Regions from separate parts of the Homo sapiens genome. Here all the other regions are linked to region 6. Evidence: promoter capture Hi-C in 16 types of primary human blood cells and fetal thymus (Javierre and others, 2016). All regions are on one chromosome and are shown on one strand. Each heading gives the region's core, a stretch centred on a gene start or on the middle of the fragment in contact. The rest is flanking DNA. Distances are from core to core; before and after follow the strand shown.

Evidence for each region. Contacts are between HindIII fragments. The CHiCAGO score rates a contact against its expected background, and 5 or more counts as called.
Region 1: a fragment that was not itself captured here is called in contact with the fragment with the promoter of H3C12 in region 6 in 2 of 17 cell types (fetal thymus and total CD8 T cells); the score reaches 5.8 in fetal thymus.
Region 2: the fragment with the promoter of HMGN4 here is called in contact with the fragment with the promoter of H3C12 in region 6 in 6 of 17 cell types (activated CD4 T cells, M0 macrophages, total CD4 T cells and 3 more); the score reaches 8.7 in activated CD4 T cells.
Region 3: a contact is called between the fragment with the promoter of HCG11 here and the fragment with the promoter of H3C12 in region 6, in 2 of 17 cell types (neutrophils and M0 macrophages). The highest score is 6.0, in neutrophils.
Region 4: a fragment that was not itself captured here is called in contact with the fragment with the promoter of H3C12 in region 6 in 1 of 17 cell types (activated CD4 T cells); the score reaches 6.2 in activated CD4 T cells.
Region 5: a contact is called between a fragment that was not itself captured here and the fragment with the promoter of H3C12 in region 6, in 2 of 17 cell types (total B cells and fetal thymus). The highest score is 7.1, in total B cells.
Region 7: a contact is called between the fragment with the promoter of BTN3A2 here and the fragment with the promoter of H3C12 in region 6, in 5 of 17 cell types (activated CD4 T cells, non-activated CD4 T cells, naive CD8 T cells and 2 more). The highest score is 9.4, in activated CD4 T cells.

What each region holds. Positions count from the first base shown.
Region 1 is chr6:26,472,303-26,476,294 of GRCh38, forward strand. LOC285819 (a long non-coding RNA gene) reads right to left here. Exons shown (of 4, transcript NR_038992.1): 3 at 3,850-3,992. It also overlaps a transcript of BTN2A1 not described here. Among named protein-coding and RNA genes, the nearest start is that of BTN2A1, 16 kb to the left of the region's middle. RefSeq lists an enhancer at 1,533-1,582. The HindIII fragment of the contact is 800 bases long and covers 1,071-1,870 here.
Region 2 is chr6:26,536,087-26,539,827 of GRCh38, forward strand. HMGN4 (high mobility group nucleosomal binding domain 4) reads left to right here and starts at 2,280. Exons shown (of 2, transcript NM_006353.3): 1 at 2,280-2,415. TRR-ACG1-2 (tRNA-Arg (anticodon ACG) 1-2) reads left to right here and starts at 1,412; the gene lies at 1,412-1,484. It overlaps TRV-CAC1-6 (tRNA-Val (anticodon CAC) 1-6), which reads left to right and starts at 1,968; the gene lies at 1,968-2,040. RefSeq lists enhancers at 1-476, 566-1,230, 2,491-2,900 and silencers at 1,264-1,557, 1,951-2,000. The HindIII fragment of the contact is 7,010 bases long and covers 1-3,741 here.
Region 3 is chr6:26,519,702-26,523,771 of GRCh38, forward strand. It overlaps HCG11 (HLA complex group 11), which reads left to right and starts at 2,005. Exons shown (of 1, transcript NR_026790.1): 1 at 2,005-4,070. TRL-CAG1-7 (tRNA-Leu (anticodon CAG) 1-7) reads left to right here and starts at 1,507; the gene lies at 1,507-1,589. LOC107986583 (a long non-coding RNA gene) reads right to left here. Exons shown (of 4, transcript XR_001744057.3): 1 at 1,808-4,070. RefSeq lists silencers at 1,111-1,710, 1,941-2,460. The HindIII fragment of the contact is 10,867 bases long and covers 1-3,160 here.
Region 4 is chr6:26,298,622-26,302,610 of GRCh38, forward strand. It overlaps TRR-TCG4-1 (tRNA-Arg (anticodon TCG) 4-1), which reads left to right and starts at 1,056; the gene lies at 1,056-1,128. LOC124901287 (a long non-coding RNA gene) reads left to right here. Exons shown (of 2, transcript XR_007059520.1): 2 at 1-343. The HindIII fragment of the contact is 1,637 bases long and covers 720-2,356 here.
Region 5 is chr6:26,325,036-26,329,166 of GRCh38, forward strand. It overlaps TRS-AGA2-1 (tRNA-Ser (anticodon AGA) 2-1), which reads left to right and starts at 2,554; the gene lies at 2,554-2,635. TRR-ACG1-1 (tRNA-Arg (anticodon ACG) 1-1) reads left to right here and starts at 3,105; the gene lies at 3,105-3,177. It overlaps LOC101928743 (a long non-coding RNA gene), which reads right to left. Exons shown (of 3, transcript XR_241992.5): 2 at 3,975-4,052; 3 at 1-128. The HindIII fragment of the contact is 3,995 bases long and covers 503-4,131 here.
Region 6 is chr6:27,888,301-27,892,364 of GRCh38, forward strand. It overlaps H3C12 (H3 clustered histone 12), which reads right to left and starts at 2,526. Exons shown (of 1, transcript NM_003535.3): 1 at 2,015-2,526. The coding sequence starts at 2,492. The coding sequence ends at 2,082. RefSeq lists enhancers at 828-1,472, 1,473-2,117, 1,759-2,058, 2,118-2,762, 2,279-2,498 and 1 more. The HindIII fragment of the contact is 2,915 bases long and covers 2,042-4,064 here.
Region 7 is chr6:26,363,193-26,367,385 of GRCh38, forward strand. BTN3A2 (butyrophilin subfamily 3 member A2) reads left to right here and starts at 2,006. Exons shown (of 11, transcript NM_007047.5): 1 at 2,006-2,160. RefSeq lists an enhancer at 1,964-2,013. The HindIII fragment of the contact is 4,055 bases long and covers 225-4,193 here.

The DNA of each region.
Region 1 (3,992 bases), core at 221-2,720, 1.4 Mb before region 6:
AACTTAGTCCCTTGGCTTCCCCTGTCTACAAATGAGATGGACACCTTGCAATAAGAAAATGGGATTTTATTACTGAGAAAAGTAGATCTGTTATTGAACAAGCAGCCAGCCAACTCTACCACAGAGCCTAAATTCAAACTGTTGTAGTATCATTTTCTACCAGCCAAGGTTTCAGCTAAGTCCTAGGAGTTTTAATTACTTTAAGGGTCTGTTTTATAACATAAACAAATGATAGGCCTTTATATTTTATTTGTGACCCAACTAAAGTTGCAAGTGCTAGTGATACAGGATTTTTATTTGTCACTTTGCAAGCAGGGGACCTCTGGCCAGCAACACCCCACCCAAGCCTCGCTTGGCTAAACTGGCATGCCCCAGCTCACCTGTGTTATAGCTTATACCCACGTTCAGCAGTTCCTGAGCTCTTGTACCATGCCCAAGAAGAATGAGGATACACTAGACGTTGAAGGGTGAGGAGGGCTGAGAAGAATTTTATCAAGCGACTGAACAGCTCTCAGCAGAGAGGGGATGCTGGCACCCCTACCTGAAGGCAGGAAAGCTCCCCCTGTGTGGCTGGGTCCAGGCCTGTTTTATGGACTCAGAATGGGAAGTGTGTGCTGAATGGTTTGTGAGTATGCAAAAAAGGTTAAAGTGAAGACACCACTCAAAGATGGCCACAACAGTGTAAAAAAACAATTAGGAAAGTGTGGGTATATGGAAAGTAGTTGAAGGGTGGGGACCAATCAGAGGAAAGTGCACCAAACAGGAAGACAAGTTCTCAACAAGTTCTCAATTTGGGCTGAGGATTTACCTTGTAGTTTGGCTTTCAGGCTTTAAACTGTCTTCAGCTTGGAGGTGGGGTATCACTGGGGACCCATTGCTACCTGCCTAGGCATCTGACTGCCTCCTGTCTGCTATCACTAGGTCCCAAGGTTTGTAGCAAGGACCCCTTACAAAGACATCCCCCACAGTCTACCCAAAGGTTAACCTTAGAACATATTTCATTGTCAGAGTGAGAAACAAATACACATGAAAATACAGTATGGCACAAATAAGGAGCAAGAGGTGAAGAAAGCTTCAGTCACACCCAAAATAATTTTGTGAAAAATATAAAATATGCAGTTATAGACAGCACTAACTCTGGATACCAGAAAATTCTATAATTCGGTAATGGATCTGAGACCTGAATTTTGGAGGTACTAAAATAGATGCAATAGATCTAGTTTTCATTATGTTCATACTTTCATTTGGCTCTGTGGTAAAAGATGATAATATCCAAAACAAAAGATGATAATATCCTCCATGTAACAATTACATGCAAGGGGATGTCTGCAAACTGCCACAGTATCATTTTAATTAATACCTATCTTCTCTTCTTAAAATCTTTTCATTTTTCCACTCAGTTCTCCTGATATTTCTGTTATGATATAAAAGACAGCTGAATGTGAAGAAACACTGATTGTACACGTAACACACACATTAATGATTCAAATATGTAAACACAGAGAGCTGCAAACACTTTGAGAGGTAGGGCTGAAACTTTTCGTCAATGTGTACAATTCAATATCGTTTCAGTTTTCATTCTAACCGTCCCCAGTGGCTTCTGCCCAGCAACTGATGAGAAATGGTACCTCTGAGCCAATCAAAACACGAATTCCTACAAAGAGGATTCTCTTAGTGTTTCTCGGACCGAGTGTACAGCACATGCTTTCTTTTCCTTTATTCTGGATCAGAGAATCTTAACTAAAGCAGAAATAATTGTGTTAAATTAAACTAAATTTGGTATGAGATATGTATACATTTAGCCTGAGGGATGGCTCTTGAGCCCTTAAATAATGAACTGCAACCTAACTTAGTATGTAAACTAACTGAAAGCTTAAGGCATGGGAGTATACTTTTGTAACAAATAGCTGAGTCTCAGCCAATCCCAGTAGCCGAACTTCAGTCGGCGGCAGTCAACCCTGCAGCCAAGTGATCAGACTATGTTCAAATAAGGCCAACTCTGAGCTGTAACCAATTAAGCTGTTTCTGTGTGTCACTTCCCTTGTGGAATGGAGCTCACTGAACCTCTCTGATGGCTGCCCGATCGTTCTGATGGTTTGCAAATTGTTCTTTGTTCAAATTAAACCCTGCTAAATTTAATTTGTCTAAAGTTTTTATTAACAACAGAAAACTATTGATTACCTTTTTTTGTGGGCTATGATTTTCAGATAGGAATATTAAGGAGTAAGTGGGGAAAATTGCTTAGAGCCAGGGCTACAAGGCCTGGAAGAAAAGGGACTGAAAAGCTGAGAGGGGAACTGGCACAGAGAAAGGGGTGAGGATGGAGAGGGTAGAATGCAAAGAGTAAGGACCTGAAGAGGCTGAGATTTGGCTGAAGAGGGACAACCTGAATAGAGAAACCTTCCAACTGCATGTTCTTAGGAACTAATTACAGTCAGAAAGGAGCAAAGACTCCTTTTTTTTTTTTTTGTCAGAGTCTCACTGTTGCCCAGGCTGGAGTGCAGTGACACAATCTCGGCTCACTGCAGCATCCACCTTCCCAGCCAAGCAATTCTCTGGCCTCAGCCTCCGGAGTAGCTGGGAATACAGGCATACGCCACCACACCTGGCAAATTTTTTGTATTTTTAATAGAGACGGGGTTTCACCATGTTGGCCAGGCTGGCCGGCCAGGCTGGTACTGAACTCCTGACCTCAAGTGATCCACCCACCTTGGCCTCCCAAAGTGCTGTGATTACAGGCATGAGCCACTGCCCCCAGCCAGGAGACGAAAAGACTCCTAAAATATCTCCTGGTTATGTTTAGGAACATATTCCAAAAGGTTCTAAAAAGAGATGTGCCTTAAAGATTCATATGTATATTGTAAATTTTCAACTCCATATTTTCTAGATGTCCCCAACATCCCCACAACAGCCCGTCAACACCCTGCCCAGGTGACCAAGTACACCAGTGCAACAGGGCTGGTTCCTGCCTGCTTGCCCTTGCTTAACTGTGACCTAGTGACCTCCTCCCATCTTTTGATCTTTATTCCTCTAGTTCACTTCCTTTGTCACTATCTCTCCACCCACACCTACTTGCCTTAATCACCTTAACAGCAAAGGCTGAATTATTGTAAACAAAAGGAGTCTGTCTTTTTAGTGCATGGGTCCCCAAGTATGTATATATGAATATGCAATGAACCCCAGGATACTAAGCTTCACTTAAGGATTTTTTCCTACAAGGACTCAGCTGTCACATTTGGGGGCATTTTGTTTTGTTTTGTGAATGTTTAACCAAGCTAATGGAGGAACTATTGGTACAATGAACTCAAAAAATGTACAGGATCAGCAGGGCATAGTGGCTCACGCCTGTAATTTCAGCACTTTGAGAGGCTGAGTTGGGAGGATCACTTGAGCCCAAAAGTTCAAGATCAGACTGGGAAACATAGTGAGACTTCATCTCTAAAAAATTAAAATAAAATAAAATAAATACAAGGAAAAAAGAAAAATGTACTGGATTGAGGGGAAAAATTTATGATGCAAACAGAAGAGCATTTATGATTGAAGTGAGAGAAGGATAATGGGGGAGGATGGTGAAAGAACATCAATCTAAATTTATATTTAAATTTACATGAATCCAGTGCAGGCAGCATCTCAGGGGAGGGAGGAGTCTATTTTTCTGTTGATTTCCTGGGCTAAATTCCTGACTGACTCATTGCTGAAAGTAAATAACATATTATTATAGTTGAAAGATTTTTTTTTAGTGTAGTGATTTCAAACTGTGCTCATTTATATGCAACCCATGAACGCCTCCCTTCTCCTATGTCTCCTTTTGAGTTGTAGGGCCAGTTTGAAGCTTTATATATCATTTACCAAACTTAGGGTGGTGAGTGGGTGCTGATGGCAGCCTGGTTTGAAAATCTCCACTGGAGAGAAGACACAGCAGGATTCAGATGCAAATGACCAGAGCACTCCAAGTTGGAAAGAACTGCTGAGCGGGTCTGTAGAGCCCATCG
Region 2 (3,741 bases), core at 1,030-3,529, 1.4 Mb before region 6:
GGTTGCGGTGAGCCGAGATCGCGCCATTGCACTCCAGCCTGGGCAATAAGAGCAAAATTCTGTCTCCAAAAAAAAAAAAAAAAAAGTTTTGGTAACCTATTTTAACATAATTAGTTTTCTTTTGAAATCTTACATATTTATCTTTTCTTTCGTGTATTTAAAAGTATTATTCTGAGATAGAGTCCAGAATCACCAAGCTGCCCTTGGGGTCCATAGTACAAAACCTAACGAGAAGATCCCTATGCTATTGCCTAGGGAGTAATCCATAACCTAGGTCTACCTTAATATTTATGCAGAAAGAGCAGAATATTTTTTGTAACGGCTGTTGAAACCTTATGAACTGAAAACAAATATTTTCTAATCTCAAAGTGTATATTCTCAATATCAGGCAGTTTTACTTCTGTTTAGTAGACCTCATCTTATTTAAAATGCTCACCAGGCATGGGGATGATTTATTCTCAGAAATATGGACAAACTAAAACACACACATATGAGACGTTTGTTTGCTTTCAAAGTGAAAAAGTGAACATTCATATGAGTGTCCGGGTTGATGATGCTCCTTATAAAGCTGTCAAATTCTGAGATCAAGGCCCTGCAGTAGAAGCAGCATGCAGTGAGGAGGCCTAGCACAGTTTCGCTTAGTAAAATATTTGAAGAAAAAAAAAAAAAGACCCACAGAGAGACAAATGAAAACTCAGACCACGTCACCGTACAACGGCTTCCAGTTTCCTACAGAATACCAGCCAGAGTCCTTACAAGAGCCTGTAAAGCTGGCCAGAGTCCTTACAAGGGCCTATAAAGCTGGAGGTGGTCTCCCAGGATCTCCTATTCCTCTCCACTGAGCACCGGCCTCCTCAACATAACTCCCAAGCCTGCTTCCACCTCCAGGCCTTTTCCCTAGCGATTTTTCCCTGTTCCAGATCACTCATTTCCCCGATATCAGCATTTATCCCTCATTCATCACTTTCACTGCTGGCCTTTCCTATCCTCTTTCCCTGTTTTATTATTATTTTTCTCCAATCGCTTATCACTATTATTTTGTTTATTTAATGCTTTATTATCCGCTTCCGCCACTGCCATGTAATCTTGAGGGCAAGGGTCTCTCATGTTTTCTTCACCGTTATCTGCAGTGCCTTGAACACTAATACTGGTTGAATGAACGAACGCATTAATGGAGCGGTGATATTGGGGCAGAGAGGATGCAGGGCTTGCTTTTCACCGCCATTTTTCAGCCGGCAGAGACAGACCGAGAAAGGAATGAAGGCCACGGGGCGTGTGCAGAAGTAGCTACCAGAGAGTCCATGCGCTGCGAGCCTGGACCAGCGGGCAAACGCGGCTTACAGGCGTTCACCCAGATATTACGGGTACAACCTAGTTTCTTATGAAATACCTCGCCCCTAAGGTACGCGCAGGGCCAGTGGCGCAATGGATAACGCGTCTGACTACGGATCAGAAGATTCCAGGTTCGACTCCTGGCTGGCTCGGTGTAAGCAGGGTCGTTTTACAACTTTCTGACTCCGCAGGAGTAAGGAAATTCCTGCAAGATAAATTTGCCTGGAAGACTCAGAAGCAAGAGGGGCAGCTCCCGACAACATATGGGGTTATCATTTCTTTGCGGAGCATTCTGCCACTGACCACGTGGTAACGCCAACTACGCCAGAGAAACGCTCGCCCTACCCAAGTTGTGCCCAGCCTTGCCTGGCCATTTTGGCCGAAGAACGAAGGACCGTTCAGAGATTAAATTAAAGTCTCTATTGTGTTCTTCCCTATTCAGTCATTTGTAGAATAAATTCTATGGCTTCAGTTTGAACACTGGAGGGGCTGGGTCTGAGCTTTTCATTGGTTTTTCTGGTTTGAGAGGTCGGTACAGAGACGCACGCGCACATCAGCAAAACACGCACTTGGAACGAAGAAACACGGAACTAGGCAGGAAGAACTATTTACTCTGAAAAATAAGCCCTTAGTGGGTTTCCGTAGTGTAGTGGTTATCACGTTCGCCTCACACGCGAAAGGTCCCCGGTTCGAAACCGGGCGGAAACACGTTTTTTTTTCCTCATCTTACTACGAAATTCTTCCAGTGTGTATCTTTTAAAGACTTTTTCAGGCTGTCATAAATTTCCTGTCTTCTTGTCTTGCTAGATCGGGGCAGCAGTGCTTAGGGCGGGCCTCAGAGGCTCACACACGTATCGCCAGGGGGAGAACCAGCTCTCTCCGGCTTGGACTCGGGGCGGCTCCCCGCCTGCAGCCCCGGAAGCGCATCCTCACCTTCCCTCGCCTTCCTGTTCCTGGCGGAGCCGGGCTCCGCTCGTCTTCTCTGTCTTAGGGCTGGTGCTGGCCCTGCCCACGCCTAGGGCTCCGGCGCGTCACGGGCCTCAGCTGGGATTCCCGCGCCCCTCGGACGGCCACGAGACTCGGGTAAGTGCCTCACAGACTTTGTGCGCTACCCCGGAAAATGAGGGGCGTGGTGGGGGGGGTCCCGCCGCCCTCCGTATACTTAGGACCCTCCTGCCAGCTGGCCCCGGTCATGATTAGGGGCCTTGGGCCCCGTCAGCCCCGCCTGTCTTCCCGTCTCCAGAGTAATCGCAGCATCTCTCCTGAGCTCCGAGTGTGAATCCCTGGGAAAAGCTGAATCCAGAGGTGGGGTCACAGAGAGCCGCAGGCCCGACCGGGATGAGAAGTCCTAATCGGCGTTCTAGGGGCGTTCTAAAAGAAGGAAGGAAGGGGATTTGAAAGGATTGCTCCCGCAGGGCTGTGGCCTTAAAGAGGTGGTGACTGGCAGGTTGGACTGACCTGCCGTGGGCTCTCCCTTCCTCCCCAATTTACCTTCGAGAAACCCTCGTTGAGGAGACACCCAAGGGCTGAGTCCTCCTCCACTTTGACCTTTTGCTATTCCATCACAAAGAAAAAATGGATCCCAAAGTTAAGAAATGGACCAGCACTTGTTTAGAATCAGGACTGGTGCCTTGGTGTTTGGCCTCTTACCTCTGCCACATGGCTTGCTTACAAGTTAATCGGATTAATCAAACGCTTTTATGAGAAAGTTTTGTTGTGTCACCTGGCAGCCTCGGGTGTTCCCTAAGAGGGATTTCTTTCTTAGATGTATTACTACTTTTTCTAGGGATTAGCCAAGCCTAGCCTCTCAGATCATATTGCTCCAGGTTCCCTCAAATGACTAATAAGAATGTGATGTGTTTGTTTTTGTTTGTTTGTTTTTGAGACGGAGTCTCACTCTGTTGTCCAGGCTGGGGTGCAATGGTGCGATCTCGCTCACTGCAACCTCCACCTCGATTCTTGTGCCTCAGGCTCCCGAGCAGCTGGGACTACAGGTGTGTAACACTACACCCGGATAATTTTTGTATTTTTAGTTGGAGACGGAGTTTCACCATATTGGCCAGGCTGGTCTCAAACTCCTGACCTCAAGTGATCCGCCCGCCTCGGCCTCCCAAAGTGCTGAGATTACAGGCATGAGCCACCGCGCCCAACCGAATGTGATATTTTTATGACCATGAGAAAAGAAGGGCTGCATTCTTTGGTGGGTCCGCAAAATTAAAAAAAAAAAAAAAAAAAGAAAAGAAAAGAAAGAAAAGGACAATGTTAATGAGCTGTTTTCTTTTTATCATTTTCTTAAACAGGCTGCTTGGGTAGACGTTGACTTGAAAGGTCCATTCTTTTGTCATCTTGCTGGTTCCCTTAACAAGACAACACCTTGGCTAGCAAGATAATATCTTGGTTAGCAAGACA
Region 3 (4,070 bases), core at 755-3,254, 1.4 Mb before region 6:
AGAGGCCTTGCAGAGGACTTATTAAACACTTACTGTGGGACTCTATCCTCATAACTTTTTAATTTACTTATTTGTATTTTTAAAATCAACAAATAAAGATATATATATTTATGATGTACAAAATGATGTTTTGTTCTATGTGTACATTGTGGGAAGGCTAAATCAAGCTAATTAACATATCCATTACATCACATACTTATCTTTTTCTTTTTGTGGCAAGAACATTTAAAATCCACTCTCTTAGCAATTTTCAAGTATTCAATAACGTTGTTATTAACTATAGTCACCATGTTGGACATAGCAAAACTTCTGAATCGGTAGGCCTGAGAAGAACAGAATTTGCCTCTAATTGATTCCCTGGAGATGGGGATTTAATGCTTAATTTAAGGGATTAAACATTGTATTCTATCAATTGAACTCACGATGAAAGTATTATAGGTGTCTAAGAAAGCTGTTTCTAATGTCCACAGAAGCAAAATGACTTATCTAAGATTCTCCAGGTAGTGACCAGTTCTAGTTCTGTCTGAAATTCGTACTCAGGTCCCCTGACTTCCAGTCAGTGATATTCCGACCATGGCATCCTGACTGCTAACCCTTGCTAACAAAATTTGAAGTAGGTCACCTCTGACCTTTGTTTATGTTTAGAAAAGTTGTTGTGCTCAAGGCCTTCTATCAAGTACCCGCTGCGCCAGGTTTAGTAAAATACATAAGCTACTCCCCATTTTTGTTGTTGCTGTTTTTGCTTTTGCTTTTTAAAGTTTTTATTACAGTATAACATCCACACCGAAAAGTGCGCAAATCCTCCATAAACTCCGACAGAGAGGCAAGACAAGCCAGGCTTCCCACGCTCCTGTCCCCTCCACCGGCCCTGCCAAGGGTAACCACGTGCTGGGAGATTTGCAGCACAACGCAAAGGAGAAGGATTAGCGAGCACCTTGTTCCAGCAAAAACTGGAGCAAGCCTAAAACTTCCTGGGAATTAAGTGTAAATTTAAGCCAGGTATTCTAGTAATGTTGAGTTCAACAGGATTGCCATTATTTTAACTAGAATTCAGTTGAGAGCAGAGCGCCATCGCCGTCTTCCGCCTTAGTCACTCGGCCCTGGGCTGGCTCACGCCCGCCCCGCCCCCTCCCCGCCCCTCCCACGCCCGCCCCGCCCCTCCCACGCCCCCGCCCCCGTCCCGCTCCCCCTACCCCGACCCGCCCTCCCTCGCCCGCCGCCCCACCCGCCGCAGCCCTCCCCGCGCAGCCTGGGAGTGACTCGGCGTTCACTCGGGAGACGCCGCTCTGTGGCCCGGACAACCGGTCCTATGCAGCGCCGTCCGAGGCAGTTCGCGGAGAGGCGGCTTACCTTTTAACCCAGGAATGCCCATATCTTGAGAAAAAGAACAACAAGGGGGTGGGCGGGGGTGGGGACATGGGGTAGGGGGGCGGCTGGTGGATGGGGAACTAATAGCGTTTAGACAAGAGACAGAAGTGAGTCCTGAGCACAATGTAGCATAAGCGCGTCAGGATGGCCGAGCGGTCTAAGGCGCTGCGTTCAGGTCGCAGTCTCCCCTGGAGGCGTGGGTTCGAATCCCACTCCTGACAGTTCGTACTTTTAGTATTTAGACACAAATCGAGTTTAAGTTTACGCTACGTTTTCCTACCTGCTCTTTGTGACATGGTCTTCTCTCTTTTTAAAAAATAAATTTTCCGAGTTCCGGAATAAAAGCACTCTTTGTTTTTATTAGCCACTCCAAGGACAGCAAAAAGTACTCTGTACTCCGAAAATAATTTCAGAACCTACCGGTGTTTTGAAATCTCACCTCCTTTTTCCGTTTCTCCTCTGTCTCTAGTTGTCTTTCCCTCTCCCTCCTTCACAGGCAGAGTTGAATAAATGTTACTCTTCAGTTCATGGCTCATTACATTACTGCAGGGCTCCTCTTTATTTAGTTATAGTTATCTTTTTAATTCCATTTCTTCAGTCTCATTCCCCACCTCATCCTTACTCCCCGTAAGAAATCACTGCAAGAGTTCCGGTCTGGCAGAGAGCGCGGAGAGACGCAGAGCGCGGGCCGCTCCTCCAGGGCGCTCCAGGCCCTCCGGCCCCGGGTCGGCGGGTGAGCTAGGGGGCGCCCCGGGACAGGCCGCGCCCTCTGCCCTGCAGATACCGGAGGCCTCTGCTGTGGCTGCCCACTGGCTGGGCCCAGGCCTTGAAGCGGTGGCGAACGTCTCTTCCCTACCCTACCTCGGTGACTGATGGCGGCGGCGGCCTCTCCCAGTCCGGACCCTGCCGGCCGTCGGGTCTCCCGGCCCAAGCCTGCCGGGCCTGGACGAAACCCCCGCCGAGCAGCCTGGACGCAGCGCCTTTGGGTGGCGGCGGGAGTAGCGTGCCGGGAAGCATGGCGGCCGCTCGAACGCCGCGCGGCGGAGGGCGTTAGGGCATGGAGGGCCCGGGAAGGCGGCCTAGGGACGCAGGCAGGCTCGGCCGCCTCTTCAGGCCACGGAGCCGCCAGATCTGGGTCCCGGGTGACCACTCTGTCGCCATTGGGCGAGACCTACCTAGTCCTAACGACAACGGACAAAGGCCTTAACGGGCCTGGGAGGTGAGCGAAGTCCCGAACGACGACGGGTGGAACGGTTAGCGGCGATCGGGCGGTTGGTCTCCGTACTACCAGACCTTGCTGTCGGAAGAGACAAATGGTAGAATGACAGGCCACGTTTGGCCCGTTGGAAATGCCCTCCATCCTCTGGGAAGATTCACAGGCCGTTTACGGAAGGCCTGTGTATATAATATGAAAAAGCTGCTCTCAACTCCACCCCAACCTTTTAATAGAAAACATTTGTCACATCTAGCCCTTCTAGATGGAAAGAGGTTGCCGACGTATGATAGAGTTAGAAAGTCACACATCTTGTAAATTCTCATTTGTTTAAAAGAAATCATAGAAAATACATGTCTTCCGGAGTTGACTTTTGGAAACTGAGTTGTTAGACGGCCTCTAGAAGCGATACGTTCACGTTTGTTCAGTGGGTTAGATGACATGGAGCTCGAAGACCTGAGAAGGAAAAAAAGAAGGTTCTATGCTAGACTGGTCATATTTAGAAGACATTTTCATATTCTATCCATTGTTTTGTGTGCATTCGCTTCCTCACTACTATGTATGTAGTTGACAATGCTAAGCTTTTTTGAAATGTCTATTCTTTTTAGATATTCTGAAGTGTCTGATATATGTTAAAATTAGAGGTAGTAAAACCACATTTTGTAAATATCTTTTTGTTACAATTCATAGAAATGTTGTTTTTTGGGGGGAATGGCCAAATCACCTGTTGAGTAATACTCATTGTGTTTGTGCAGTAGTTCAGGGGAGGAGAGAGGAGGGGGAGGTGCAGAGAGCTCTATGCCATCCTGCTTACAGCGAGGCAAGATGAATCACTATGTCTGTGCATTTTGTTTTATCTATGTATATAATGTACATAAAGGACAAACGAGTCCTAATTTACAACATCTAGTCTTTCTGGATGTTAAAGAGGTTGCCAGTGTATAACAAAACTAGAGTTAGTAAACTAATATATTTTGTACATTTTGTTTTACAAGTCCTAGGAAAGACTGTCTTCTGAAAATTTGAGCATTCTTGCCCACTGGGTTGATGGAGATGGGAAGGGTTCTAGGCCAGAATGTTCACATTTGGAAGACTCTTTCAAATTATAACTGTTGTTACATGTTTGCAGTTTATTCGAGACTGCTGTGTACATACATAGTGGACAAATTAACTCCTTACTTGAAACATTTAGACTATCTAGATGTTTAGAAGTGCCCGATGTATATTAAATGTAGAGGTAGTAAAATACCAATTTGTAAATATCTTTTTGCTAAAATTCATAGGAAATACTTTTGGAAGTTGAATTGTGAAGCCACCTTTGTGAGCAGTATATTACTGTCTATACTTGCTCAATGGTTTAGAGGAGGTGGGAGGGAAGAAATTGCAAAAGATAATATGCTAGTGTGTTCATACTTGGACATTTTCAGACACCATTTTTCTGTATGTTTTGTGCATTTTGTTTTGCTCTGTATATAGTGTATATAATGGA
Region 4 (3,989 bases), core at 288-2,787, 1.6 Mb before region 6:
GCTATATTTGCTAACCAAGAGAAACCAAGACTTATCACAAATGAGCCAGGAGAGCCATTATTCCCAGTATCTGGGGTTTAGGAAAATTAAGGAAATGTCTTATATGTAGGCTGTTGACATTATCTTCAAATGAAGTACTTGACTTCACAGAGATTCACTGACAGGCTTGAAAGAAGCCACACAAAATAGAACTTTATATGCCATGATGGGGCCAAGAGCGCTACGGAACATTATAAATTCTATAAATATCTTCTCCATAGTATGATGCTAATGCATTACATTTTCGTGTTGATTCATCTATTAAATGTAAAAATTGTTAATAATAAAAATTTTTGCATTTCTATTTCGTGTTCCTTCACTTCTTAATATATGGGAACCTCAAAAACTGGTAATGGCTCTAGTCCGCTCGGCACTCCTGAGAAACCCCAAGGAAAGTATTTTCTTTCCTTTCTAAACAGAACCATACCACGAAAAGTGCTCTGATATCACATTATCACAATCAGAGAAAGTACCAGAACAGCATGGAGAGGGGGTAATTGTCTCCGGGGTCTGCAGATATCCATGCAGGATGGCGAGAAAGACCACGGTACAGATGTTGCCTTGTGGTAAAACTGCCTTCCAGGTACAGTTTTCTTAACAACTATCTGGGCAGACCCTGCAAGAACCTAGTCTGTAAATGGTGAATGTGGATGAGCATCATAGGGAAGAAACCTTGAGTAAGCTTATTTTAACATATCCTTCGATGCAGACAATATGCAGAATTTTAGCATCTTTTAGATGCCATAAACTCCGCTTCTTCTGCCTTGGGAGTCAGAACAAACGACTTTTCTCTCCAAGGAGTAGTTATATTACCACAAGACTAAAATAATTGTCGATACCAACCGTTTATAAATCCCGATTCTGTGGCCCCAAATATCCCACCTAATCTAAAGTTTTCATTTTCTCATTGGCGAAAACACGGGCGCTGTAGATGCCAACACGGGGGGTTGGAGGGGGCGGGTGGGGGGAAGCTCGTTTTATTTTCTAAGTATTGCAGCAACAACGGAACTGCGGGGGACCACGTGGCCTAATGGATAAGGCGTCTGACTTCGGATCAGAAGATTGAGGGTTCGAATCCCTTCGTGGTTAAGTGGGGTTCGTTTTCGGGCATGAAAATTTTATTACCCATTTCATTCCAAGAAAAAAATAAATCATACACTCTCTGGGTTTTCTGAATCCTTTTTTTCTTCCATCTCCTCTCCTTTAAAGGGAAGAAGGAGACATTCTCAAAGGCCTTAGGAGAACAAGTGACAGAGTGAAGAAAGACTGGAAAGTCAAAACTGAAATACAGCCATCTACTACTTTGGAGCTGTCAGGTTCTCCCCAAGTTTGGATTTTAAGCACCTGCGTTTCGGTTTTGTAGGCTTAGATTCAATTCAAGGATTCAATTCCTTGAAAAAAAGAAATTCAGATCTATAAGCCAAGCTGTCTCAAACTGTAGCGTCTCAGACTAATGCCAGGCCCCAGTGGCTAGCACAGTAGGAAACCTGTTGCTTCTTCTGATTTAGCACTAGGCCAAAAACTCTTCACATTTCTTTTTTAGTCTACATCCGCGTGTACCAAGGAGTTTTGGCAGCTGCTGAAGCCTATGTTACTAGTTCTTACTCTCCATTTTAACTTTTTTGTTGTGGGTGTGTTGCCATCAAAAGGATGAGAATACCTAATATTGAATTTTATATTGCAAAGCAAAAATATAAAGGTAATTAAAATAGTCCAACTGGTTACAGTGTGTGTGTGCAAACAGGAAAAGACAGGGAACACAGCTGTGCAAAATATATAAAAAACATTTTGTATTCCTAAATAACATTTTGTGTGCCTGAATTTAATAATAATTTAGGATTAAGGAAAAGTAATTTCCAATTGCTGACATCATGATGAAACATAAGACATTTGACTCCATCCAGATGAGATCATTGATTCAAATCACATGGAGTCCATAAGTGTGTTTCTAGATCAAAGCAAAGAATATTAAAATTAGTAATAATTACCTCTCCCTGTCCCCAGCTTCTTCCATAGCTCTGTTTGATTCTGGTTTCCTCTAGTCATCTGTAGATTCCAAGTTGTATAAAAAATGTGGGGATTGAGCATTGGTTTCCAGACTTTGAAATTTATTGGATTAGAAAGTGTCAATGTCCTAATGTCATGCAAAACCATGTTCTGCCTTGTTAATGGCAAAACCCACCATTTGCACTGAGCATCCTTTTATAAACTAGAAAAAGGATATAACCTCAAAAGAAGAGTAACCTTTTAAAATGAATACAGTGATACTTGAGAATTACATAGCCCACCTTTTTTCTTGATTCTAAGAACAGGAAAAAGCTTCCTCCTCTCTCTCTGATCAGTATGTAACCCTGTGTACCAGAGGATGAACAAGACTTTTTCCAGGGGCCCCACAGCCTCCCTCAAGCATTTAATGAAAGTGGAAATTCTGATGCAAGAATATAAAAATTTGCCTGTCATAACCCTTTCTCTCTTCTTTTTCTTTCTTTCTCTACTGCACTGATAGCAAAGAATGCCAAAAGGAGGAGAGAGACTTTCCAGACTGGGAAGTGCCAAAAGGGAGAAAACTGAAAAAGATAGGGAAATCTGTGGACATCCTGAGTCTTAAATGGTCACCGTGATTTAGGAACTTGTCCCAAATCCACCAAATAAAAATATATGCACCCTTTGATGAATGTGTAAGCCTTTCTGCTTTGAGAGTGGGATTCAGAAAATAAATAAATAAATAACATGAAAAACATCTTTTGGAGCTGGATTAAAAAAAAGCAACTGGAAGAAAATAAATCAAGAAGAAAGATTTCTAGATGTGTATCACAAACACTGGGAGTTGGGTCCAGTTGCACAGGGGATTAAGAGATTCATGAATTTAATAGAGTAGCCCCCCTTATTTACAGGAGTTATGTTCCAAGACCCCAGTGGATGCCTGAAACCTTGGATAGTGCTGAACTCTATATACACCATGTTTTTTCCTATACATACACACATATGATAAAGTTTAATTTATAAATTAGGCATTTTAAGAGATTAACAACAATAACTAATAAAACAATTATAACAATCTACATACAGTAATAAAAGTTATATGAATGTGATCTCTCTGTCTCTCAAAATACTTTATTGTACATTACTCACCTATTTTCAGACCTCAGTTGACTATGGGTAACTGAAACCACACAAAGTGAAACCTCAGATAGAAAGGGGACTACTGTAAATGTTTATGGAGCACCTACCCTGTGCCTGCTTCTCTCCCCAGCCACTGTGCTAGGTACTGGGATTCTAGAATATAGGATCTAGCAATCTAGGAACACAGTAACAAAAGTACACAAAAACCCATGTCCTCAAGAGGTTTGGAGTTGAAGGAAGAGAGGAGGAGACAACACAGAAAACACAAAATGAATAAGTAGATTATATAAGTAAATTATACTTTATATTAGAAGAGATATATTCTGAAGGAGTTAAAAACTATGCCCCTCTGGCATAGTGACTATTTTGAGTTAAAGGCACTTGAAAAATAGCAGATGCAAGAATATCACTCTGACTCTCATTCTGTTTCTTAAAAGCAGAATATTAAATTCCTCTGTGAAATAAGTCCTCCCTAAACTAGAATGACAGTATCATTCATTCTAGTTTCTAAGGTAACTGAGGCTGAGGGAAATCTGTGTAAACAAATCTTGTTAAATGAGAATTTATCCTCTCAGCCACTTCTCTACCCAAGTAACTACCCAAGCCCAAGCCCCTTTGCCTTGTTACATTTACATAGTTTACCACTTTCTGTCTAATTCAGCATGTAAGTGTTCCACTCTCACTGCACTGTAGTATCTTCATTTTCCAATGAAGCCTCTTGTGCCACAGAAAACTATTAAATGAATTTGTATGGTCTTTTTGTATTAATCTGCCTTACATCAATTTAATTCTCAGGTTCAGCTGGAGAAATTGTAGTAAGAATAGAG
Region 5 (4,131 bases), core at 1,250-3,749, 1.6 Mb before region 6:
TTTCACTTCTCAGGAGTTCCAGGCCCCCTTGACAGAGTGACCAGAAGAGGAGCTGAAAAGGTCGGACAGATGCAGAAGATGAAGGCCTCCCATGTCATCTGCGATCTTCTCGCTAGGCCACAGGGTACCTTAAAGGCATTAAAGGAGGTAAGGGACACAGTCAGAAACACATTCTGGGTTAGTGCTAACTTAGCTCTACTTACATAATCTGCCCTCAACTACATTTCCGGTGTTATCTCTCATCAATGCCCTTCCCAGTACCCCTCCAAAAAGCAATGTTTCAACTAGAGGGAACTTTCTTCAGTTTCTCCCATATTCCTTGAGGTTTAGGTTTGGAACACTACCCTACCCCGTTTTCTCACCCCACACCAATTTGTCTCATTTTAACACATCCTTCAGATCCAGATCTGAGCTTAAGTATAATTCATTCCAAAAATACTTAATTAAGCACCTATGGAGGACTCAGAGGTAAAGAAGGTAAAACTAGAACCTTTCTTCGTGAAGCTTGGAGTCTAAGTGACCCTCCAGGCAACCACCTAAAACCTTTGTGGTTGAGATCCAGAACTCTTTCTGTGGGCTACTTACTGTGTTAGGGCTGCACTTCTCACTTGCACTCAGTTGTTTTATTGTTAACTTCTGTAATCCTTTAGAAATCTCGCTCTCCATTGAATGAGCAGTACCTAGCAAAGTGCTTGGCTTTTGCTATTTCACATAAAAAGAATTTGAAAAAAATAGGCAATTCTCTGTCTCACTACCCATATACAAAGTGCTTATTTTTATTCTAAAAAAATAAAATTTTTGGAAGAATGAATAAATGAATATATTATTTAAGGGATCAGGAACTGGAGGCCAAAAGACTAAGAAGTTGTTGCAATAACTTAATGAGAAGTTTCTCATGAGTACTTCTAAGTACCTAAACTAAGTACCTCATTTTAAAAAGTGGTCTGAGTAGCTGGGCATGGTGGCACGCGCACCTGTAATCCCAGCTACTAGGGAGGCTGAGGCAAGAGAATTGCTTGAACCCGGGAGGCGGAGGTTGCAGTGAGCCAAGATCGTGCCACTGCACTCCAGCCTGGATGACAGAGCGAGGCTCCGTCAAAAAAAAACAAAAAAAAAAGGTGGTCTGAGGGCTGGGGAAGAAGAGCCAGATTTGAGAGCTAATTAGAAGGTTGAATTGAGGGCCTGCTGGGAAGGGAATCAGAGAGACATAAAAGGACAAGGGTAGTCTTCGGTCTTGGTAGCCAGTCTTCGGTTTTGGTATCTCATCAAAAATTTGGATTGTTGGAGGAAATTTAAGTTTGAGGAAAATGATGGAACATTCCTTTGGGGTTGCATTGCTTTTGAGATGCCCATGGACATGCAAGAAAAAAAAATAGGACAACTGTATATTCTGGAGCCCAGAGGAGAGAGATCTGGAGTAGAGACGATTTTCAATCCATCCGCACATGAGCAGTAGTTCATCAATCATTCCTTACCCTTCTTCTGTTCATAGAGTTGGGCCATTGATGAAATACAGAATCCCTGACTTGCTCACTAATACTCACACACACACACACGCATAGTATTGTGGTAATGGTAGTGCAGTTTTAGAACCTGGGGTTCTGCTCTTCCTTTGGAAGTGGTCTTTGAATATAATTTCAAACTATTCACAGAATATCAGATGCAGTTGTTCTTCCCCTTGTGAGAGAAGGCCCCATAAACGAAAGAGGATTTGACCAGCAAAAATATTTTTTACTTTCTAGTTTCTTTCAGAAATGTTCTTTCAGCTGGTTAAAATATTCTGAGTTTTATGAAAAGACAGAAGCCTATCTTCACTGAAGAACCTTTTGATGAATCTAGATTCTGGGGTTTTACAATGATAGTTACAATTGTACTGACATTTGTTGAGCCGTTAGTATATCGCAGGCACTGGACTTTGTCAGAAAATATAGGGGATCTCTGTGGAACATCAGTGTTATTTACTGAGGATAATTTTCTTTCTTTTTATTTTTTTAATCTATTTTTTATTTTTTTTTTACCCCCGAGACGGAGTCTTGCTCTGTCGCCCTGGCTGGAGTGCAATGGCGCGATCTCGGCTCACTGTAAACTCCGCCTCCTGGGTTCAAGCGATTCTCCTGCCTCAGTCTCCCGAGTAGCTGAGATTACAGGCGTGCACCACCACCTTGGCTAATTTTTTTGTATTTTTAGTACAGACGGGGTTTCGCCATGTTGGGCAGTTTCAAACTCCTGACCTCATGATCTACCCGCCTTGGCCTTCCAAAGTGCTGGGATTACAGGCGTGAGCCACCGCGCCCGGCCTGAGGATAATTTTCTTACTAGGCAAAAATATGAGAATTGTAAAAGTTGTTGAAACATATTCCTGATTTGCATTATAAAAAAGACCCAAAGAACATTCTTAGCGTATCATGTATGTGCCTGAATTTGAAGTTTGTTGATTGCTTCCAAGTTTTATTCTTAAGATACGAATTCAGCTATTATTAAATCCCTAATAAAAGGAGTACAATATGTGATGTATGGAAACATGTAAGACATTTAATAAGGTTTTTGGTATCTGTAGTCGTGGCCGAGTGGTTAAGGCGATGGACTAGAAATCCATTGGGGTCTCCCCGCGCAGGTTCGAATCCTGCCGACTACGGCAGTGGGTTTTTGCATCTTCAAGCAGGTTTCATCCGACCGATCGATATTTCACGTGTAAAAAGGCTTTCGATCTTTTACAAGTTAACATCAAAATGGATTTCTTGGGGATTCAGGGCAGGACAATTTCAATTTATGTCTCAGAGGTCCTCAAAATGGATTTCTCATTGCCCAAAGTAAACCTTATCTCTGATCTTTTACAAGTTACATCATAATGGATATTTCATTGTTCAGGAAGGAATCATTGTGCACAAGGATGGATTTCTCATTACCCACGAAGGAATCATACTTCATGAGTAAAACAAGTCAAAGGAACAAATAAAACTATATTTTGTTTTAATTGGAGGGTTTTGGGTTCAAAATCCTTATGATCAGAAAGAAATAAAATTTCATATATTCATGTATAGGAGGACGCGGTAATCCCAAAACGTTTTTTTCTATAGGTATAACGCCTGTCTTCGTTCGTCAGAGGGCCAGTGGCGCAATGGATAACGCGTCTGACTACGGATCAGAAGATTCCAGGTTCGACTCCTGGCTGGCTCGTTCGACTTTAGTGGAAACTTTGAGGTTTACATAAATGCCCCTTCCCTGGGCACTCATATACATTTTATGTATTTTATCATTTTAATTTTTAAAAGAATTACACAAGATGACAAAAATTTTTATAATATAGACTCCAGCTTCAGTTCACTATTGTTTTACATACATAAGAGTTTTTTTTTTTTAAATCACATCACTAAATTGATAAGTTTCAGAACTGACCAATTTTCACATTGCTTGATAAAACTTAATACAGGGGAATTTTTTTTTCTTTTTTTGAGATGTATCACTGTGTCGCCCAGGCTGCAGAGCAGTGGCGCGATCTCAGCTCACCGCAACCTCTGCTTCCTGAGTTCAAGCGATTCTCCTAGCCTCAGCCTCCAGAGTAGCTGGGATTACAGGCATGTGCCACGACACCCAGCTAATTATTTTTGTATTTTTAATAGAGAGGAGGTTTCGCCATGTTGGCCAGGCTGGTCTGGAACTCCTGATCTCAAGTGATCAGCCCGCCTCGCCCTCCCAAAGTGCTAGATTACAGGCGTGAGCCACCACGTCCGTTTGGGAAAACCTTGTGTCATTCTGTGAGAGTTACGATTGAGAATTCACAAACAGAAAATTTCTAGATAGCAAACAATTTTGGTTTCTTTTCTATCCTTTTCGCATACTCATAATTTCAAGAATCACTTGAAACAAAAATCAAGTCTCTTCTCTGCTCCCTGTCCTCTAGCAATTTTTAAAGTTATTGAAACATATTCCTGATTTGCATTATAGAAAACACCCAAAGAACATTCTCAGCTTACCACATATGCGCCTGAACTTGAAGTTTGTTGATTCCTTCTAAGTTTTGTTGGCAGGACGTGAACTCAGCTATTAAATTCCTGGTAAAGCGAGAGGTACAATATGTGACATATAATAACATGTACGACGTTTAAGAAAACTTTTGGCACCTATAGTCGT
Region 6 (4,064 bases), core at 1,276-3,775:
TGGTGCCATCCATTTTTCCATGAAATATGGGTGTTCTCGGAACTGTCATGGTGTTGGTGGATGTCTGATTTGTATGTTAATAAGTGTATAATAAGGTCCCAGGTGAAAGCTAGGTCAAATCCAGTGCCATGTTGGGTCAAGTAGGACTTAGCCAGCTTGGCAAACATTTCGGTTTTCAGGGTCTCTTTGGCTCCTAGTTTGTGCAGCTATTTCAACAGTTTCCTTTTTGCTAGTCATGTGAAACTACTGCATGGAATCTTCTATTCTCTTGTGACCACCCTATATTATTTCTCTCTCAGAAGGGCCAAATAATTGACGTTTTTATGCCATTCTGAGACTACAGAAAGAAAAAAGGTCTTGAGACTTCTGGGGGTTTGGAGGAGGTGGTGACACATGTTGTAGGAGGGTGAAGGAGGAAGGGCAAAGGCACCAGGGGAGGAAAGGCAAAGGTTTTCTTGTTATGTAGATAAAGTCTCTCAGGTAATCGCAGAATAGCTGACAGCCTGTGACAAAGTAGTTTTCTCTCCTTTGAGTCAGTCTTAGATTCCTCTTTAGGCAGGAAAGGGAGCCTCAGAGAAAGCCAGTACTTGCATCCACTGTTTACTAATGTAGATTTCCTTGATAGGTATACAATTCTTTTACAAAAAAGAGCTTTTCAGAGCTATTCCTATTTCTGCAGTTTCTCTGAATAGCCATCTTGAAATATGACAAAGTATACTTCGGGGTGGCATATTTTAGTCTCCCACAAGAGCCACTCCAAACTAAGATTCAGAGATAAAATCAGGTTCAATAAATATTTTTTGTGTACCTAATGTGTTTTCTGGGGCACTGTCCAAGGCCCTAGAATATATTACTGCATTTAACCTTTAAAGCAGTCTCTTGAGGAAAGTAAAGTGAAGGAAATAAAAATATTTTACCCCAAAAGATATTTCTTTGCCCTATTTTGAAATGGCTGCCTCAGGGCCCGGAGACCGATGAGGCCCTGCAAATCAGTCTTTTGTGGGGGAAATTTCCATTTGTTGCCAGGCTTTCCCTTTCTAGTCCTTTCCTGGATCTAGGAGAGATTAACTGAGAGTCTGATCCTTTTTTATTTTTATTTTTTAAGAGACTGTCTTGCTCTGTCACCCAGGCTGGAGTGCAATTGTGCAATCATAGTTCACTGCATCCTTGAACTCGTGGGCTCAGGCAATCTTCCTGCCTCAGCCTTCTGAGCAGCTAGAACTACAGTTGTGCGCTGCAACACCCACCTTTCTTTTTATTTGTTTTTCGTAGAGACAGGATTTTGCTGTTACCCAGGCTGATCTCAAACTCCTGGGCTCAGGGAATCCTCCTTCCACTGCCTCCCAAAGTGGAGGGCATGAGCCACCACGCCCACCCTGACAAGAGACATTTACCATCTATTTTTTCTGAGGACTACTAGCTATGTGTTTTCATCTACATAACAAGACCCGCCCCCCTTGCTAGCCAAGTCTCTTCCTTTCTCCCTCCTATAATCTGTTTTCCCAGGTTCCAAGCTTGCACTCTTTCTATAATCTCAAGGTGATATATAAACTTCTGTATCTCATTGGTGGGTGGGTCCTCATTTTGAAGTCTCCCGTGTCTATGTGCTAAATCAACCGGCCTCATGTCCGTGATTTTCAGCAAGCTTCCAGGGGACCCAAGGGCAGTGCCCGTTTCAGTTAAAAATGGCATCTCATTTAACCTGTAATCTAATTGTTAGTTATGGGGTTCTGGAGATGCTATCCCCAAAGGACAGCATGTGCAGGAAGGACTTTGGCTTTCCCCTTGAAGCGGATTGACCTTGGATATAGATTTGCTGACTTTCCTCGGAGAAAGTGAGACCCTTGTGAGATGGGTCACAGAGGACAAGTGAAAAGGACCGTCTTAGAAGACAAAGGACACTGCAAGGAATCAGAATGAACAACCCTTGACGACTTTCCGCCAGTTTATCCCTGCTTTAAAGTTGATTTAAGACAGTCGACCAATGGTGTGACAGCTATCCTCAGTGAGAATGTAAGTGGCTCTGAAAAGAGCCTTTGGAAGCTTGGAAGCAATTAAGAAACCCAAGATAGAGCAGGGGATTATGCTCGCTCGCCACGGATACGACGCGCAAGCTGGATGTCCTTAGGCATAATAGTGACACGCTTGGCGTGAATAGCACAGAGGTTGGTGTCTTCAAAGAGACCCACCAGATAGGCCTCGCACGCCTCTTGCAGCGCCATCACCGCCGAGCTCTGGAAACGAAGGTCGGTTTTGAAATCCTGCGCGATTTCTCGCACCAGGCGCTGAAATGGCAGTTTGCGGATGAGCAGCTCAGTCGACTTCTGATAACGGCGGATCTCACGCAAGGCCACGGTGCCTGGCCTGTAGCGGTGGGGCTTCTTCACACCGCCAGTCGCTGGAGCGCTTTTGCGCGCTGCCTTGGTGGCCAGCTGCTTCCGCGGTGCCTTGCCGCCGGTAGACTTGCGAGCTGTCTGCTTCGTCCGGGCCATAGTTGAGAAAGCTATGCTCTGAAAGCAAGCAGCTGAATGAGCAGTGGCTTCTACCAGAATTTATAACGATGATCTGATCCTGATTGGTCAGAACTGTTGTAGGAAAAACCTGGTTGGTTGTTAATACTATCTTCATTTGGTTCCTGCCACTTTTTTTTTTTTTTTTTTTTTTTTACCTGACGGCTTCTAATTCTGTCGCCTAGGCTGGAGTGTGGTGGCGCGATCTCAGCTCACTGCAACCTCCGCCTCCCGGGTTCAAGCGATTCTGCCTCAGCCTCCGGAGTAGCTGGGACTACAGGCACTTGCCACGACGCCCGGCTAATTTTTTTTTAGCAGAGAAGGGGTTTCACCATGTTGGCCAGGCTGGTCTCAAACTCCTGATCTCAAGTTATCCGCCTGCCTCGGACTTCCAAAGTGCTTAGATTACAGGCGTGAGCCACTGCGCTCGTCCTCCGCGCCACTTTTATTTATTGTTTTCAACCAATCATGTTAAGATTCCCCCAATGAAAAGATAATCTGACCTAGAATTTGTGTAGGTCAGTCGTAGTCTTAAACTCATTTCCAATGGGTCATTTTTCCTATTTCGGATCGTGTAAAAATACATACAGTAGAACAACGTATTTGCTAGTATTTCCAAAAAGTAGTTCCGTTTTGTAACTGCTTAATTAAATCTTTTAATGACTGTACCAAGACCCAGAACAAAAACAATTTAAACTTAGGCTGGCACATTCTCTAAAACACCAAAACTTTAGTTTTGTCCAGTGTGGTGTGGGGAAGGAGTTTGATAGGTGCTTGACTAAATGATACCAATAAATGGTATCTGACCTCTTCATTAACTGAGTTTAATGCAATCCAATGGCTGATTGGATTAATTATGTAAATTATTGCTTAATTTCATTAGCATGCGCGGAATTACAGGTTTGGGTCAGTGATTAGATTTTTGCCAGTGAATCTGGGTAGTTCTGACAACAGCATTTTATTAGGATGGAGATTTTAGTTGATCAAAGAACTACCAGGTTCTGGTATTGATAAAGACCCATAAAGACAACAAAAAGGTTAGTTTAACATTTATTATATTCACAGGAGCAAATGATCACCAGAAATACTTTTGTTTGGGTTTTGTTTTTCTTTTTTTGAGACGGGGTCTCGCTTTGTCACCCAGGCTGGAGTGCAGTGGCGAGGTCATGGCTCACTGAAATCTCAAATTCCTGGGACTCAAGTGTTCCTTCTGCTGTCAGTCCGCCAAATACAGGCGAGGGCCTCGCGCCTGGTATTTTTTTTCTTTCTTTTTTTTAGATGGAGTCTCGCTCTGTCGCCCAGGCTGGAGTGCAGTGGCGTGATCTCGGCTCACTGCAACCTCTGCCTCCTGGGTTCAAGCGATTCTCCTGCCTGTCTCCTTAGTAGCGCTCGCCACCACGCCCGGCTAATTTTTGTGTTTTTAGTAGGGACAGGGTTTCACCATGTTTGCCTGGGTGGTCTCGATCTCTTGACCTTGTGATACACCCTCCTCGGCCTCCCAAAGTGCTGGGATTACAGGCGTGAGCCACCGCGCCCAGTCATTTTTTTTTTAAG
Region 7 (4,193 bases), core at 756-3,255, 1.5 Mb before region 6:
TGATACCGAACCTTTCATAATGGAAAATAATGACATTCATAAAGAGTTAATATGTGCAGGTGCTGTGCTAGGTTCTCCCCAAACAACTTAAGAAGCAGGTCACATCCCTACCCATAGCTGAAGAAACAAAGACATTGAGTGAGAAATGAACTTAGGGGTCTCATAGTTTGGAAACTACAAAGTTCAGAGATATGAAGAGTTGGGCTCAGAAACTCCTAATCTGAAGCTTAGCACATTGGCTGCTTCTTTGTGTCAAAGTGACTTGGACCCTCCAGGCAAAGGTGGGATGTTCATTCTTACTAATACGATCTCAAGCAGCACAGCTTCTGATAGAGTCTGAATTTAAAAATAAACAAATGAACAAATAAACAAATATTGATGGATGAATAGGGGTGAACAGCAGGATGGATTTATAATAAAGTAAGAAACTAAAATATTAATTATACAATCTACATGGTAGATATATTGGAATTTACTGAAATTCTTTCACCTTTGCTATATGTTTTAGAAGTTTTATAATAAACTGTTGGGGAGGGGGAAGGGGGAGGGAAAAATTGTGTTTTTCTGTTGATAACAGAGACCAGAAGTACCACTGGCTTAAATAAAACAAGGATTTGTTTTCCTTTCATGAAAAACAAACTTATTTGGAAATTTACCCTGAGTACTAATATATAATAAAATATTTTAAAAGAAAAAATTTTTTAAATAAATTTAGATGGTGACAGTCCAGGGCTGATCTGGCACCTCAGATATGTCATTCATGCCCCAGCCTGCTTCTGACTTCATTCTCTGCTGTCCCAGTGTGTGGCTTCCAACCTCAAGGCTGCCTCATGGTCCCAGGGTGGGCTACTGCACCTCCGGGTCCAAAGTCCATGTTCTAGGCAAGAGGAAGAAGGAAGAAGGGAGAGTGTACCCTCACACTCCCAGCTATTTTGGCCTCCCTTTGAAGGATTTCTGGGAGAAGTACAAGCCCACAACTTTCACCTACAAACCGCTGGCTCCAACTTAGTCCCTTGGCCTGCCCTATCTTCAAGGGGGAAGAGCAGGATGCAGTACCCCAGAAAATTAGGCCTTGTCACTAAGAAGAAGGGGGCATGCACGCTGCAGAAGCAACCAGCCATCTCAAGCAGATACCACACAGCCTAAATTCAAACTGTTGCAATATAATCAAATCCCATCAGCTCCAGTCACATATTAGCTCTAGGAGATTTCTGGCTTGCAGCCCAAAAAAGTGTGTTTTGAGGTCGTAAGCCACAGGGAGAACAAGATTGTCCCATAAACTCCTTACAGAGATGGTGTACAGGAAACGAGCCTTACAGAGACCACAGCCTATGGAGTGTCTAGCTTCAGAGAATATGTACTCCACTGGCAGCGTGAGAAACAAATACCCAAGAAAATACAATATAGCACAAACCAGGAGCTGAGGGTGAATGAAGATGCTCAGAAAGATCTGCAGTAAGAATTTCCTGGGAAAGGTAAAACAATGTCAAGCAGCACTGCCTCTGGAAATCAGAAAAATTATATTATTTGATACCATATCCTAAGCCTAAATGCCAGAAGTTCTTAAAGAGGTGCAGTTTGTCTCATTTTCTTTCCATTCATACCTTTATTAGGCTCTGTAAAAAAGATCCTCCTCTTCTACGTACCTATCTACATGCAAGCAAACTGCCACAGAAGCATCTTAATTAGTGCACATCTTCCTCTCTTTGCACATTAAATTTTTTTACTTTCCTACTCCATTCTGCTAATATTTCTATTACCATGTAAAAGACACGAGACAGGTGAATATAAAGAAATACTTATATACATCCACGCACAAGAATGATTCAAATAGATAAACACAGAAACACAAACACTAAGGGAGGTAGGGCTGGAGTTTTTCCTCAACGTGTACAATTCAATGTACTTTCAGTTTTCATTTCAACGTTCCTCAGTGGTTTCTGCCCAGCAACTGATGAGAAACATCACCTCTGAGCCAATCAAAAAACTAATTCTTCCAAAGAGCGACTCTTACTGTTTCTCATGGTGAGAAGACAATATTTGCTTTCTCTTTTTCCTTTCTTCCGGATGAGAGGCTAAGCCATAATAGAAAGAATGGAGAATTATTGATTGACCGTCTTTATTCTGTGGGCTCTGATTCTCCAATGGGAATACCAAGGGGTAAGTGCAGGAAATTGATTAGAGCCTGGGCTACAACGCATGGGAGGAGCGGGGCTGAATCGCTGAGAGTGGTGAGTGGGCATGCAGGGAGAGTACTCTCCCAGAGAAAGGGGTGCAGTGCCTGTGTGTGTGTGTGTGTGTGTGTGTGTGTGTGTGTGTGTGTGTACATGTGTACATGTGCACACTCGCACATGCACATATGGGCACGTGGGAAGACGGGAGAAGTACTGCAAAGTATAAGGAACTGCAGAGGTTGGGATTTAGTGGAAGGAAAGGGAGACAACATGAATGAAGAAATATTCCAACTGCATGTTCTTAACGTATTGTGGTCAGAAAAGGGCAAACAAACAAACAAACAAAAAACCCTTAAAATCTGTTCTGGCCAACTCAAGGCATCTATTCTGAGAAATTCTGAAGAAGAAGAAGAAAAAAGAGATGTGCCTCATAGATTTATATGTAAATGTGTTTATTACAGAAGTATTTATAATATAGTAAAATCTGAACCAACATACATATTCAACAGGTGGGGAATAGACAAACAATGCATGGTTCAGTCATAAAACATGTTCCATGTAACCATTAGGAATCATAATTTTAATTAAGTGAAATTCTTTATAATTTTAATAACACTGGATCCTTATATTAAACCATTTTTGGTATCTTTTAGGGATAGTACTTGGTTTTCTTTCCATTCATCATTTCCCCAAAACCTAAAGCATGATTTCCCATGGTTACAAGCTACTACATTGTATGAATATATAATTATTGGGAGTCTCTGTGAGCCTACTCTGACTCAGAAAGCCGCTCCTAAAGAAGAAAAAAGAACAAACAAACAAATAAAAAACCCGAATTATTTTTAAAACTCTTTATTTTGGATTTTTCAGTTTCTACATTTTGTTACTGTAGATTTTACTAGATTGAACAGCCTTATCCATAAATATTTGCATCAATCTCTAAATTTTTTTCTTCAACACTAACTTTTATAGTTGGAATTTTGGGGGCAAATAATACAACATTTTAAAGGCACTTGCCATGTGTACATGGCCAAATGCTTCCAGAAACATTTCCACTTCCATTAGCAAAGTATATAACTACAGAGTATTTAAGGTTTTATTCCTTTATATTTTTTTCTTTGGCAAAATTGTCTATAGTAGAAAGAATGAATAATAAATAACCTAAAAAATAAAAGTTCTCCCTCTGAGGACAGCAGAGAAATTTTTAGCTTAGCTTAATAATACCTCCTTCTCCTTAGGAGAATAAAGAGCAGTTTCGAGGAGCAGAAGATGTGGTGAAATATAATGTTTAGTCTGATGGTGGATGCAAGATCCAGGCAGGGGTGGAGCATGACCAGCTGCACAGACCTCTGTTCCCTTGCTTCCTCTACATCTCTCCCCACCTCCATCTGCAGACCTTGTTCTCAGAGGCCATTCCCAGACCCACAGCAGCTGGTATGATGGCTGCAGGCCTCATGCTCCTTTGTTTTGGGAGAAACTGTTGAGGAGTTAGTATTTACTGAGCAGCTAATATGTTCCAGTCACTATTATTCCTCATAATAATTAGTTATTAACTAATACATGAAAATTTTAAACTTAAAGCATTCCAATAATTTTAAAAGTAAAGGAAGCAAAAGGCCAAAGCGTCCTTTCACTCACTTAACCTCCAATTTTCAGTTTAGCATCCATCATTTTAGACTTTTTCAGGCATTTACATATATAGTTATGCAGAAATGTATAGCTTTGCTTTTGTTTTTCAATTGAATCATTAGTATAGTTCTGCAAGGTGCTTTTTAATCACTTAGTATATCTCCATTATCCAGGCTAGTGACATTAAATCACTCTTTTTAACTGCTGCATTGAATTTCCTCCTAGGGATGAGCCATCATTCCTCTAACCAGTCTCTTGTGAGTGGCTGGTTCAGTTGGTAACCACTTTTATACTTTAAAAATAGTGCTGCAGTGTCATTCCCACAGAGGCTTCTCTCTGCACCCATGCGAGTACTTCGCTGAAGTAACCATCAGGAAGTGGAATTGCTGG